Linked DNA regions of Homo sapiens: all the other regions are linked to region 2. The links are contacts of gene promoters, found by promoter capture Hi-C in blood cells and fetal thymus (Javierre and others, 2016). All regions are on one chromosome and are shown on one strand. The core of a region is centred on a gene start or on the middle of the fragment in contact, and the rest is flanking DNA. Distances in the headings are between cores, read along the strand shown.

What was found. The method cuts DNA at HindIII sites, captures the fragments that hold promoters and counts their contacts. A CHiCAGO score of 5 or more calls a contact.
Region 1: the fragment with the promoter of EVX2 here is called in contact with a fragment that was not itself captured in region 2 in 1 of 17 cell types (naive CD4 T cells); the score reaches 5.1 in naive CD4 T cells.
Region 3: a contact is called between the fragment with the promoter of HOXD11 here and a fragment that was not itself captured in region 2, in 8 of 17 cell types (total CD8 T cells, naive CD4 T cells, endothelial precursors and 5 more). The highest score is 9.0, in total CD8 T cells.

Annotation. Positions count from the first base shown.
Region 1 is chr2:176,082,226-176,085,897 of GRCh38, forward strand. EVX2 (even-skipped homeobox 2) reads right to left here and starts at 1,737. Exons shown (of 3, transcript NM_001080458.2): 1 at 1,125-1,737; 2 at 1-224. The coding sequence starts at 1,551. RefSeq lists enhancers at 496-1,111, 3,562-3,672. The HindIII fragment of the contact is 15,744 bases long and covers 1-3,672 here.
Region 2 is chr2:177,135,165-177,139,054 of GRCh38, forward strand. All of the region lies in intron 1 of LOC105373760 (a long non-coding RNA gene), which reads right to left. It also overlaps the pseudogene RNA5SP112. Among named protein-coding and RNA genes, the nearest start is that of MIR4444-1, 76 kb to the right of the region's middle. The HindIII fragment of the contact is 619 bases long and covers 1,256-1,874 here.
Region 3 is chr2:176,105,268-176,108,781 of GRCh38, forward strand. It overlaps HOXD11 (homeobox D11), which reads left to right and starts at 2,013. Exons shown (of 2, transcript NM_021192.3): 1 at 2,013-2,869. The coding sequence starts at 2,089. The HindIII fragment of the contact is 7,005 bases long and covers 1-3,514 here.

The sequences.
Region 1 (3,672 bases), core at 487-2,986, 1.1 Mb before region 2:
GCGGGGCCGCGACACATAGTTCTCCCGGTAGAACTCCTTCTCCAGGCGCGCGATCTGCTCGCGGGTGAACGCCGTACGGTAGCGCCGCACTTGATCCGCGCCAGAGCCGGAGCCACCCAGCGCCGCGCTCCCGCCGCTGCCTCCGCTGCCTCCATGCAGGCTTCCGAGGCCTGAGCCCGACGCCGACGTCGTGGTGCCGGCAGCCGAGCCGCTCTCTGCGTACCCTGGCAAACAAACGACCAACAGCGCATGAGTGGCTGTAGGACCAACAGCCCGGCGCTGGCGCTGCGCGCGGATCGGGGAAGCCCCGTCAGGAAGGAGAGTCGCTGCCGGAATTGATGGGGTCTGTCATGCTTACAAATTGCTGCCGTTAATGGAATCAATAAAGTTTGGGGAGCCCTTCATAAGCAAATAATAGAAACGGAATTAGGAGATTTCTTTTTTAATAATTAGAAATTTTCAACCAAGGAGGAAAAGTGGCCGAGGGAAAATGCCTACCTCTGGGCGCAGTTTGGGAAGCTCTGGGTTTCCCATGGTCTGGAGACCGCAGGGCAGCTTTTTATACGGCCTCTAACCTTTATCTGAGTCTTCGGGGTTTCAAATATTTTAAGAGTTCCAACACAGCAGTAGCTCAAACCCAAGCCAATAGGGGGTGAAATATACTTTTCAACTCTTTCTCCCGCTGACCTAAACAGAGACGCCGGCGAGGCTTCCTCCGACTTACCCAGAAGAATGCCCCCTCCAGCCCTGAGGGCACAGGGGCAGGGGAGTTCAGAGTAGTTGCCCAGGGTACCTTTCCCAAAAGCAACTCGGCTGCTGACTAGGGGTCTACCGGCTCGCTCGGGCTCTTAGACACGAGCGCAGAAACATTTTCTCGGACTCAGGAGCGAGGGCGGGTGGGCCTGGTGTTCCAGGCTCCGCAGGCCTGAGCCTGGCGGGAAAGCTCAAGGAGCAGAACTGGAAGGCACGGTCCCAGACATGCGTCCCGCCCCCGCCCGTGCTAGCTCGGTGTAGCTTGCCTGTGGAGGGTCTGAGAGGGGAAAAGGCACCGGGAAAGGCTGGCGGGGGCCGCGGAGGAGCAAAGAGGATGGGACTGGAGAGCGCGGTGCGGCCGGCGCGGTTACCTTTGCCATTGTTTTCCTTAAGCTGAGCGGCGCCGAGGCCCCCGGGGGAGCGAAGCGCGGAGCAGCCCACCTCCACGTCGCTGCTCATGTCGGCCTCAGCGGCCGCCTCTGAATAATGGCCCGGCTTCTTGCGGCTCTCGGCGGCGGAGGAGATTTCGGAGGAGACGGTGCTTTCGCTGCCCGTGTGCTGCAGGTTGAACAAAGTGTCTATTTCGAATTTGCCCTTGGCGGGGAGTTCTCCCAGAGCGCTGTGCAGGGGGGCAGACGGCAGGCGCGGGCTTAGGCGAGCCGGGTGCTGCGAATTTTCCAGGGCCTCGAGCACAGCATTGCCAGCCGAGTTGGACAAATTGGAGAATCTCTTGCCCGCCGTAGGGCTGTGCAGCCCTCTCTCCATCAGAATCATCTCTTTTCTTATTCTTTCCATCATCTCAGCTTTCTTAAAAATGTCACAGTGGCCCTGCTGTCCCGTCCTAATGATAGGCTGCGCCTAGGGCTAATTCTCATTCAGCCCCAGCGAACGCCTCTAAATATTATTATCGCTTTCGGAGGGAGGCGGAAAAATTGTGGGATGCCAGAGCGAGGGAATGACTGGTCAAAATGACCCATACATCCTTCCGATCCCGAGATGTCATTCATCAAAAAGTAGCGCCCGCTCGTCATTAAGGTACGAATGACGCTGTTCGAATAATCATTTATTGTAACAGGTTTATAAGCAAATAAATACACCCTCCTGTCAGTGGGTAATGAAGGCAGCTTCAGAGCAGACAAATAGATCCAGGTAGGAGGCGAGAAGAGACAAGTGAGGAGGAAGGCTCCGGTCCTTTGCCCGCTCCGAGCCAGTTCTGCTCGCCCGGGGGTTTGGCCTCGGGGGTGAAATTGACAGTCTGATTAATAGAGCGCGCCGCGGCACATTTCCCCCTTCATTTAGGGGCATCATTACGCTCTCAGTTTGCTAGGTTGCCCCTTAGGTCCTAATCATGCAGCGCCTTCTTCATTTTTCCTTGGACACAGATACGTATTAAATAATAGATAATGGTTTGACTTTCCAGAGTAGGTCCTCGGGAAGGTTTGGTTTTTTTTTTTTTTTTTTTTTTTTTTTTTACCATTTACAAGCTGGGGGCATAAGTGGGGGGAGATAAGGGGGAGGATGCAGGAAGAGTTGCGTAAGGAGAAGACCTTGCGCCTCTCCTATCTGGATTACTTATCTTTCGGATTTCGGAACCAAATATGTATTTTATTTAACAAATAGGACGCCGGAGTTCTTTCCCTCCCTATTTCTTCACCTCAGCCTAAATGCTCTCCTCCCACCCCGGGAGAGAGAGAGAGCGGAAGAGAGGGAGAGAGGGAGAGAGGGAGAAAGGGAGAGGGAGACGGAGTGAGAGAAAGAGAGAGAGAGAGAGAGAGAGAAATAGAAATATCCTAGAGTTTTGAAAGCGCTTTCTTGCTACGTGGCCGCGGAGGTGCATTGGGCCCGCGCCTCCAAACGGAAATCATTAGGTCCTCTCTGATTTTCTAACACCGTCTGCAGAGTGAGATCTGAACTCGAAGTCCCCGGTTTTTTACTTTTATAATCCTGCTGATAGAAAGCCTTCTCGCCTACGCATTTTCCTGAGGGGAAACGAACTAGGCTGGACGATTTGATAGCAGAATTCGACAGCTAACTTTAAACACAGTGGAGATTTACAGCGCCATACGGGCGCTCCGAATCCACGCTCACGTTGCCAGATTTTCCCCTCCCTCCTCAAATAGAATTATTTGCGGCAAAGGCGCTGGATTTCGAGGTCAAAAGAGGAAAGAGGAGACAGCCTTCTTCCCCTACCTCCCCGCTGCCCTCCCTTCCCCTTTGCTTTTCTTCCTTCTCTCTTTCCTCCCCTCATCAACCCCAGCCCCTTACCTGCGGCCACAGGTATTCCCAGCGTTGGGTCCGGGCGCAGAGAGTCGCCGAACAGCCTTACAGCAGCTCTCTGCGGCCTGGGCTTGGAGGCTGAGCCTCTTGGCGACAACTTTGATAGTCATAATGACGCCGGTGGCAACCATTTTAACGAAGATCAATCTTCACTCCAGGCCGCTCCTCATCTCCCGCGGTTGCGCCCACCCTTCCCTGACCCTCCAAGCACTGTGCCCACCCGCCAACGGCCCAGCCGGAGAGAGATTCGCGGACACAGGCGGAGGCGAGGGAGGACGGGGATGGGACGCGGAGGTCCGCCCGTGAGCTTCTGAAGCGGCTGAGAGACCCTGACAATCTGGGCGCTGGGCGCGGGTCCTGCATCCCCACATTTAGCCTCAATCCGAACCCCAACCAGGGCCCCCTCTTCTTTCTGCCGACACACCCAGAACATTGGGGTGTGTTAGGGGGCAAGCTCGAGATCTATTCGCCTATAGCTCTTGGCGCTTTCCTTTTAACCTTAGACCCGTTGGGGGCGCATCAGGAATGTAAGGGGAAGCGAGGTGTGAAGTATATTTATATACATATATACACACATATAGTCAATGCCAAAAGTTTATCTTCTGTTCCCCTCGGCGCCAACTTATTTCAACAACGCGAGCT
Region 2 (3,890 bases), core at 315-2,814:
GAGAAGAAAAACAAGTCCATCCAAATATGCAATCTTTGAGAGTCCAATTTAGTGTAAGAATCAAACCAAAAATATCTGGTAAAAGTAATGACATATTATTTAAGATAACACTGGCTGCTCTAACCAAAAACTCTGAAACTCTCAGTGTCTCAACACAATAGAAGTTTATTTCTCACTCATGTAAAACCAAAACACCAACCTCCTTCCTTCTTGAGGTCCCTCCATATTCTACACACAAGAACAGAACATAGAGGACCATGCATGGGAGGTTTTTATAGGCCAGACCTGGAAGCAACAACACATCACTTCTGCCCACATGCCAGTGGCTAGAACTTGGTCAGATGAGTCCAGGCACAGTGGCTCAAGCCTGTAATCCTAGCCCTTTGGGAGGAGTTTGAGACCAGCCTGGCCAACATAGTGAAACCCTGTCTCTACTAAAAATACAAAAATTAGCCAGGCATGGTGGCACATGCTACTCAGGAGGCTAAGGCAGGAAAATCACTTGAACCCAGGAGGCAGAGGTTGTGGTGAGCCGAGATCGCACCACTGCACTCCAGCCTGGGCAACAGAGCAAGACTCTGTCTCAAAAGAAAAAAAGAACTTGGTCAAATGGCCAGTCCTAACTATGAGGGAGACTGGTGGTATAATCTAAAGGTATGTACCCAGGAAAAGGGGAAAACAGGTGAACATTTAATACCCAACCACAAATTATCAGTTGTGTCTTTCAAACATTTCTTTATAATTTCAATTTTCTAAACAAGGATCTAGCAAACTACGGCCTGCAGGCCAGATTTACCTTACCACCTGTTTTCATACTGCCCACAAAATAAGAAATGTTTTGGTATTTTTTAATAGTTAAAAAAATCAAAAGAAGAATAATGATTTGTGACACATATGAAATTCAAATTTCAGTCTCCATAAATAAAATGTTCTTGAAACACAGCCACGTTCATTCATTTACATATTGTCTATGGCTGCTTTTGTACTAAACAACAACAGAGTCAAATAGTTGCAACAGAGGACATATGAATGGGAAAGCCAAAAGTATTTACTACCTGGCCCTTTGCAGAAAAGGTTTGCTCACCTCTGTTTCAAACTGATAAGAGTTTTTAAGAATCGAGCAACAGGTACTTCTAGGCAGTGACCTGAAACACAAATATGCCTGATTGGTAGTTAAAGTATATTCATAGGCATCAGTGATTAAATGAGCTGATACAAAATTGATATCTTTTGGGAACACTGAGGGGTCTGAACAAGCTTCTGGCCATTCCTCTATATGTAGAGTTAGATCAAGAAGAACTTGCAGGCAAAGCTAGAATTTTTCATAAGAAACATTTCTGGATCTATACCAGTTTAAAAACCCATGATTAATCAGTTAGTCATTTTTACATAAGCAAGTAAAGACACACTGTTTTCCAAATTTCTCAAATAAATAAGCATCTCTTCAATAGAACTGTTAGATACTATACTAGCATGGCTTGTTTTTAATAAATAATGTATCACGCTGTTATAGAAAGAATATGATTTTCTGGGGATTGTAAATACTTTAATTCCAATGGTGAAAAGGTAAAGGATAAAGTTGCCTAACAATCATACTTCATGAAATCAAATTTCAAAGTTTATTTATAGATAGTTTCCTGATGATTATGTTAGCATAACTTTATTGTTTCTTGATTACTTAAAAATCAGATCAAGAACAAAAGTAACTCCTTTTTATCAGAATGCCTATCAACCTCAAATACTGACTGATAGCATTCCTTTCTATTAAAGTTTCAAAAGATAAGTAGGTTCACAGGGAATATGTGCTGCTAGTACACACAGATGAACAGTTTTAGAATTTAAGAAGGAATAAAATGTACCAACATATCAAAATAAGCTTTAAAAAAAAATCTTGGCATTAATGTCAATAGGCACTCCCTGGGGAACTCCAGGGACATAAAGCATAAGCTTCAGGACAAAATTTTGCTTGTAGCCACTGTACCTGCAGTCATCCAGAACAAACAAAACCTTCAGCCCTGCAGAGCCAGGCTACCCGAGACCAGAATGCCCCAAATTTGGGAATGACCTCAAAATCACTGTTTCAGAGTTCAATATCAAGCTCCTTGTTTTATATAACATGCAAGTGAGCACAGATTGAGTAAGGAACTTGCCCAGGCCACACAGCCAGCAGTCAGCAGCACTGGCATTAGGACTCCAGCCAGCCCCTTTCCCCATCTTCTGGGTTCTTCCTCTAGGGGTGTCCAATCTTTTGGCTTCCCTGGGCCACATTAGAAGAAGAAGAATTGTCTTGGGCCACACATAAAATACCCTAATACTAACTATAGCTGATGAGCTAATATATATAATATAACATATATATATAACATATAACATAATGTTATATATAACATATATATAACATATAACATATAATATATATATAATATATATAATATATAATATAACATATATATTTGCTCATCAGCTAATATATATGGCCTAGTCCCATAATGAAATACTATATAATATATATATATTATATATATCATAATGTTTACACACCTGTGTTGGGTCACATTCAAAGCCATCCTGGCCGCATGCAGCCCACGGGCCGTGGGTCGGATAACTTTTCAAGTCTACACCATAATTCATCCTCCCGCAGCTGGCTCTCTGGAGCCATCAGTTCATTGACTCAAGCAAGGTTAATGTATCCTCCTTCTAAGACAGATTAAATTCAAGTCCAAAACCACTTAATGCATGAACGTCATCCCAATGAGACCTATAAAGCAGAGGCCCTGTCAGCTTTGTAGGGCCCCAAACATCCCACAATGCCTTTTTGCCAGACCTGAATTGGCAAAACTCTTTGGCCAAAGGCTCAGATGTCTTTCACCCTTCTCTTCAGACTGCATTGGTAAACCACGCTTCTTTTCTTTCCTCCTTGCCTCCTACCTATTTCCTCTGTAGCATCTGCTTTGTAGATCATTCTTCTGTGGTGTGTGAGGACAAACGACACCAACAATCACACCACCACTCAATTGCTGAAGAGTGTAATTCCTGAACAACCAGATGCACCACTTTTACTTTAATACTTCGAATTACTATGTGGAAATCCAGGATGCGTTTGTAGATTTATTTCTACTAACACAACAATTTTTACAAGTAACTAAAACTATGATAAAATTTTATCAGTTTCTGGATTTCATTCCAAGATGTCAAGACATGGGCCACATCCTCTTTAGCAGATTGTCTGGAGGAAAACCCTCCCATCAACCAAACTTAATTAATATTATTTCATGTTACTTGATAGAAATAAATAGTAATCTCCAATTTTTCTTAGCTTTTGAATAGGATATCTGAATTAACAGCATTGATTTATTTAAAATAAAAATAATGATCTCTCTTTACTCTCTAGCTCCCAATCGCAAAATCCCACAATCTCCAATTAACAGTGATTTATTTTATACAAAAATAGTGGCAAAGTTTTCTTTTCTCATCAATCCCCAAAATGTACAATGGTACTTTAGTGCTTCCTCTATGCCAAATCATAGATATCCAATATATGGCCATACTGCCTGATCTCATCTAACCTCAGAAGCTAAGCAGGAATGGTCCAGTTAATATTGGATGGGAGACCACCTGAAAATGCCATGTATAGGCTTTTAAAAAACAAAGCCGAGATACTCAAAGCTTCATCAAAATGGGTAAACACTGTGATAGTGGTTTTCAAAGTGCTTACTAACTAGCTCCAAAACACAGAATTGCTGCAGTACAACCACAAAAGCAGGGGGAACAGAATGTAAAGCATTTGGATTTTAAAGTTTTAAAAGATTTCTAGATGTTTAGAGTGATTAGTTCTGTCCCACTTACAAAATGGAAACTGAGAAACAGAGTTAATCACAGAAACCAGTCTC
Region 3 (3,514 bases), core at 763-3,262, 1.0 Mb before region 2:
TGCCAGCTGCGGGGAGGGAGCACACAAGATGGGCAGTTCTAGTTGGGGGAGGCTCGATGCCCTCCAGTCGCCACAGACCTATTTGCGCAGTGTTGGGGGAGGGAAGAAGACATGGGAAGGGGCGGAGGAAGGAGAGAGGAAGGGAGAAAGGGAGGGAGGAGAAAAAGAGGAAGGGGGGGTACATCAGCCAGAAAATAGATATTAGCTCAGACCACCCGCCTTTTCTCTGTCTGTCCGCACGGTGGGCAGAGCGCACAGCACCGGCACTGCAGCAGCCCGGGCCAGGGAGGGAACCAGCATCACAGCCAGCGCCGCCTGCCCTGGGTATAGGACTGAGGCCCAGGCCCCAGCGCTGGGATTGCCTGGGCGGAGGAATCTTGGGGAAAGGGGCAGCCTCCTGCCCTCGGTTCTGGGATTTGGGTTTGGGAAGAGACGGTTTACCTTTGAAAAGCGTCTGCTCACTCGGAGGTGGGATCCCAGGCCTTGCCTGGACCCATGGGCTAGGAGAGGGTCGCGGCAGGCTGGGAGGAGAGTGAGGCCTTGGGGGAGTGGATGGGGTGCCCCACGAAGAGTCTGCCTCAGAGCCAGGTGACACAGAGGGGCTCCAGGAGGGAGTCAGGCTCCGCTGAGAGCCCTTAGAGAGACAACCTATCTTGGGGGAGGGGCTGAAGTGACCATGCAGACCCAAGGGTACCAGAAGAGCCTCGGGGAAACGCGGCGTGGATTCGCAGGCCTTGGCGGGGCTCCGAAGCAGTGAAGGGTCTAGGTATAAGGCGGACACCCAGGCTAGGCCTGAAAGCAGAGGGGTGAGGAGGACGAAGGTGCGAGTGTGTGGGGGTTGTCTCTTGTGGGGAGCCAGCGGGAAGCCAAGCACCCTAAGAGTAGGACTCCAGATCCTTTTGTTCACCAGACTCCCCAGATTCTAGGGAGGCTGGGGACCACGGGCTGAGCCCCCTCCTGGCTTCAGTGCTGAAGGAGAAGGCAGAGAGGCAACGGGGAGAGAGACAGAGACAGTGACACACAGCTTAGAGGAAAGGAGGGGAGAGGATGAGAGGACAGAGAGAGAGAGGAGAAGGGAGACAGGAAAGCAAGAGGAAGGAAGAAGGAAAGCGGAAAAGAAGAGGAAGGAGAGAAGTGAAGACAGGAGAGAGAAGGGAGAAGACTGAAGAGAAACGAGGCAAGGAGAAAGAGAGACAAGAACAGAGAGGGAAACCAGAGAGAAGGGAAGAGAGCCGGGTGGGCACGAAGGCCCCGGCCTGGGTGAGTGCCTAGGTGGTGAATGGCCTGGGTTTTTCCGAGGCCAGCACTCGCACCCTTGGGGTCAGAACCGGAAAGAGCCAAGTCACTCCACTCTGAACGCGCTGGGCAGAAAAATATGTAAATCAGGGCTCCCTGCGCCCTGGAGAGTGGCGAAATTACTCCCGCCCGGTGAACAAGAAGCAACAAGCTCCCAGGCGGGTGAGCTGCAGAGGGTGGCAGAGTCGCGGGGGAGGGAGCGGCTGCAGTAAGGGGGGTGGGGTTCGGAACCTCACACCCTCACACCTAGTTCCTAGCTTCTAGGGAGCCTGGAGCCGGGGCTTCCCCCCCTCTGCTCGCTGCTTCTCTCCCTTCCCCCTTCCTCCCCCTCTTCCCCCTCCTTCCTCCTCCCCGCCGGCCTCGGTCCGCGTACTTAAAGCGGCGCGGGAGGGCGGACGCGGGCGGGCGGCCCGTTCGGGCGGTGGCAGATGCGCCCAGCGGTGACAGCGGCCAGCGGCGCGCAGGTGACCGGCCTGAGGCGCAGCCTGGTCAGGGAGCGCCCGGGGAGAGCTGGCGGCAGAGGGCAGCCGATCCGCCCCCAGCGCGCGCGTCTCGGCGCCAGGAGCCGTCCCGGGGCGTGTTGGCGAGCGTTGATATAGATATAAGGACATTTCTCTTCATGGCGTCACGTGACATAATTACCACCAGAATCAATCAAGATGAATTGCACGTCAGCGCCCGGTGGGGATTTTTGCTTAGTTGATCCTGGCCCAAGCCTCTTGTGCAATCGATGGCTCAGGTTGGCTGCGCGGGGAGCGGCCAGAGGCTCGCTGGCGCGCACGCCGCGGAGTCATGAACGACTTTGACGAGTGCGGCCAGAGCGCAGCCAGCATGTACCTGCCGGGCTGCGCCTACTATGTGGCCCCGTCTGACTTCGCTAGCAAGCCTTCGTTCCTTTCCCAACCGTCGTCCTGCCAGATGACTTTCCCCTACTCTTCCAACCTGGCTCCGCACGTCCAGCCCGTGCGCGAAGTGGCCTTCCGCGACTACGGCCTGGAGCGCGCCAAGTGGCCGTACCGCGGCGGCGGCGGCGGCGGCAGCGCGGGGGGCGGCAGCAGCGGGGGCGGCCCCGGCGGGGGCGGCGGCGGCGCGGGGGGCTACGCTCCCTACTACGCGGCGGCGGCGGCGGCGGCTGCGGCGGCCGCGGCGGCCGAGGAGGCGGCCATGCAACGCGAGCTTCTCCCGCCCGCGGGCCGCCGGCCGGACGTGCTCTTCAAGGCGCCTGAGCCGGTGTGCGCTGCGCCGGGGCCGCCGCACGGCCCCGCGGGCGCCGCCTCCAACTTCTACAGCGCGGTGGGCCGCAATGGCATCTTGCCACAGGGCTTCGACCAGTTCTACGAGGCAGCGCCCGGGCCCCCGTTCGCCGGGCCGCAGCCCCCGCCGCCACCCGCGCCGCCACAGCCCGAGGGCGCAGCCGACAAGGGCGACCCCAGGACCGGGGCTGGTGGCGGCGGGGGCAGTCCCTGCACCAAGGCGACCCCTGGCTCGGAGCCCAAGGGGGCAGCAGAAGGCAGCGGTGGCGACGGCGAGGGCCCCCCGGGAGAGGCGGGGGCCGAGAAGAGCAGCAGCGCAGGTAGGCACCGGGTACTGGGCAAGCGGTGGGCCCGGGGGCCGCGGGGGAGGGGGGGGGGGCGGAGGCCTCCCTCTGCTTGCGCCTTTTTATGTGCTACTTTATAAGCATTCGAAGAGGTTTATACATCCTATAAGATTTCCTGGGCCGTTGTAAAGTGTGTTTATGGTAGGAAACCAATTTAGGTGGGCTTAAGGTAGACTTCGAGGAGGACATTAATAGCTGTCGAGAGCCTTTTCCCAGTTTTGGGCAGGGGGTTGCTAGATACCATGGAGGGAGGGAGGGAGGGAGATTTCAAGCCAGTGTGAGTGCATACACCGGAGCCTCCTGCTTTTAAGGGAGAGAGGCGGGGGGTGGGGAAGTGGGGGGAGTTTGATCCTTGCACTGGACTTTATCCAAGCCGCTAGCTGACGCGCGCCGCTGGAGTCAAGCAGATGCCCCGGCGGGCCTGCTCTTGTCTCTGTTCCCTCAGGTTCCAGTTTAGAGCCTGCCTTGCCCTCTGCTTCCCCACCTCCGTGCCAGGCTCTGTGTGTGTGTGTGTGTGTGTGTGTGTGTGTGTGTGTGTCCGGGCGTGAACACATGTCCACGCCCGCACTCTCTCCTGTGCCCGCCCATATATCATCCCCCACGACGCAGGCAGGGCCTTTC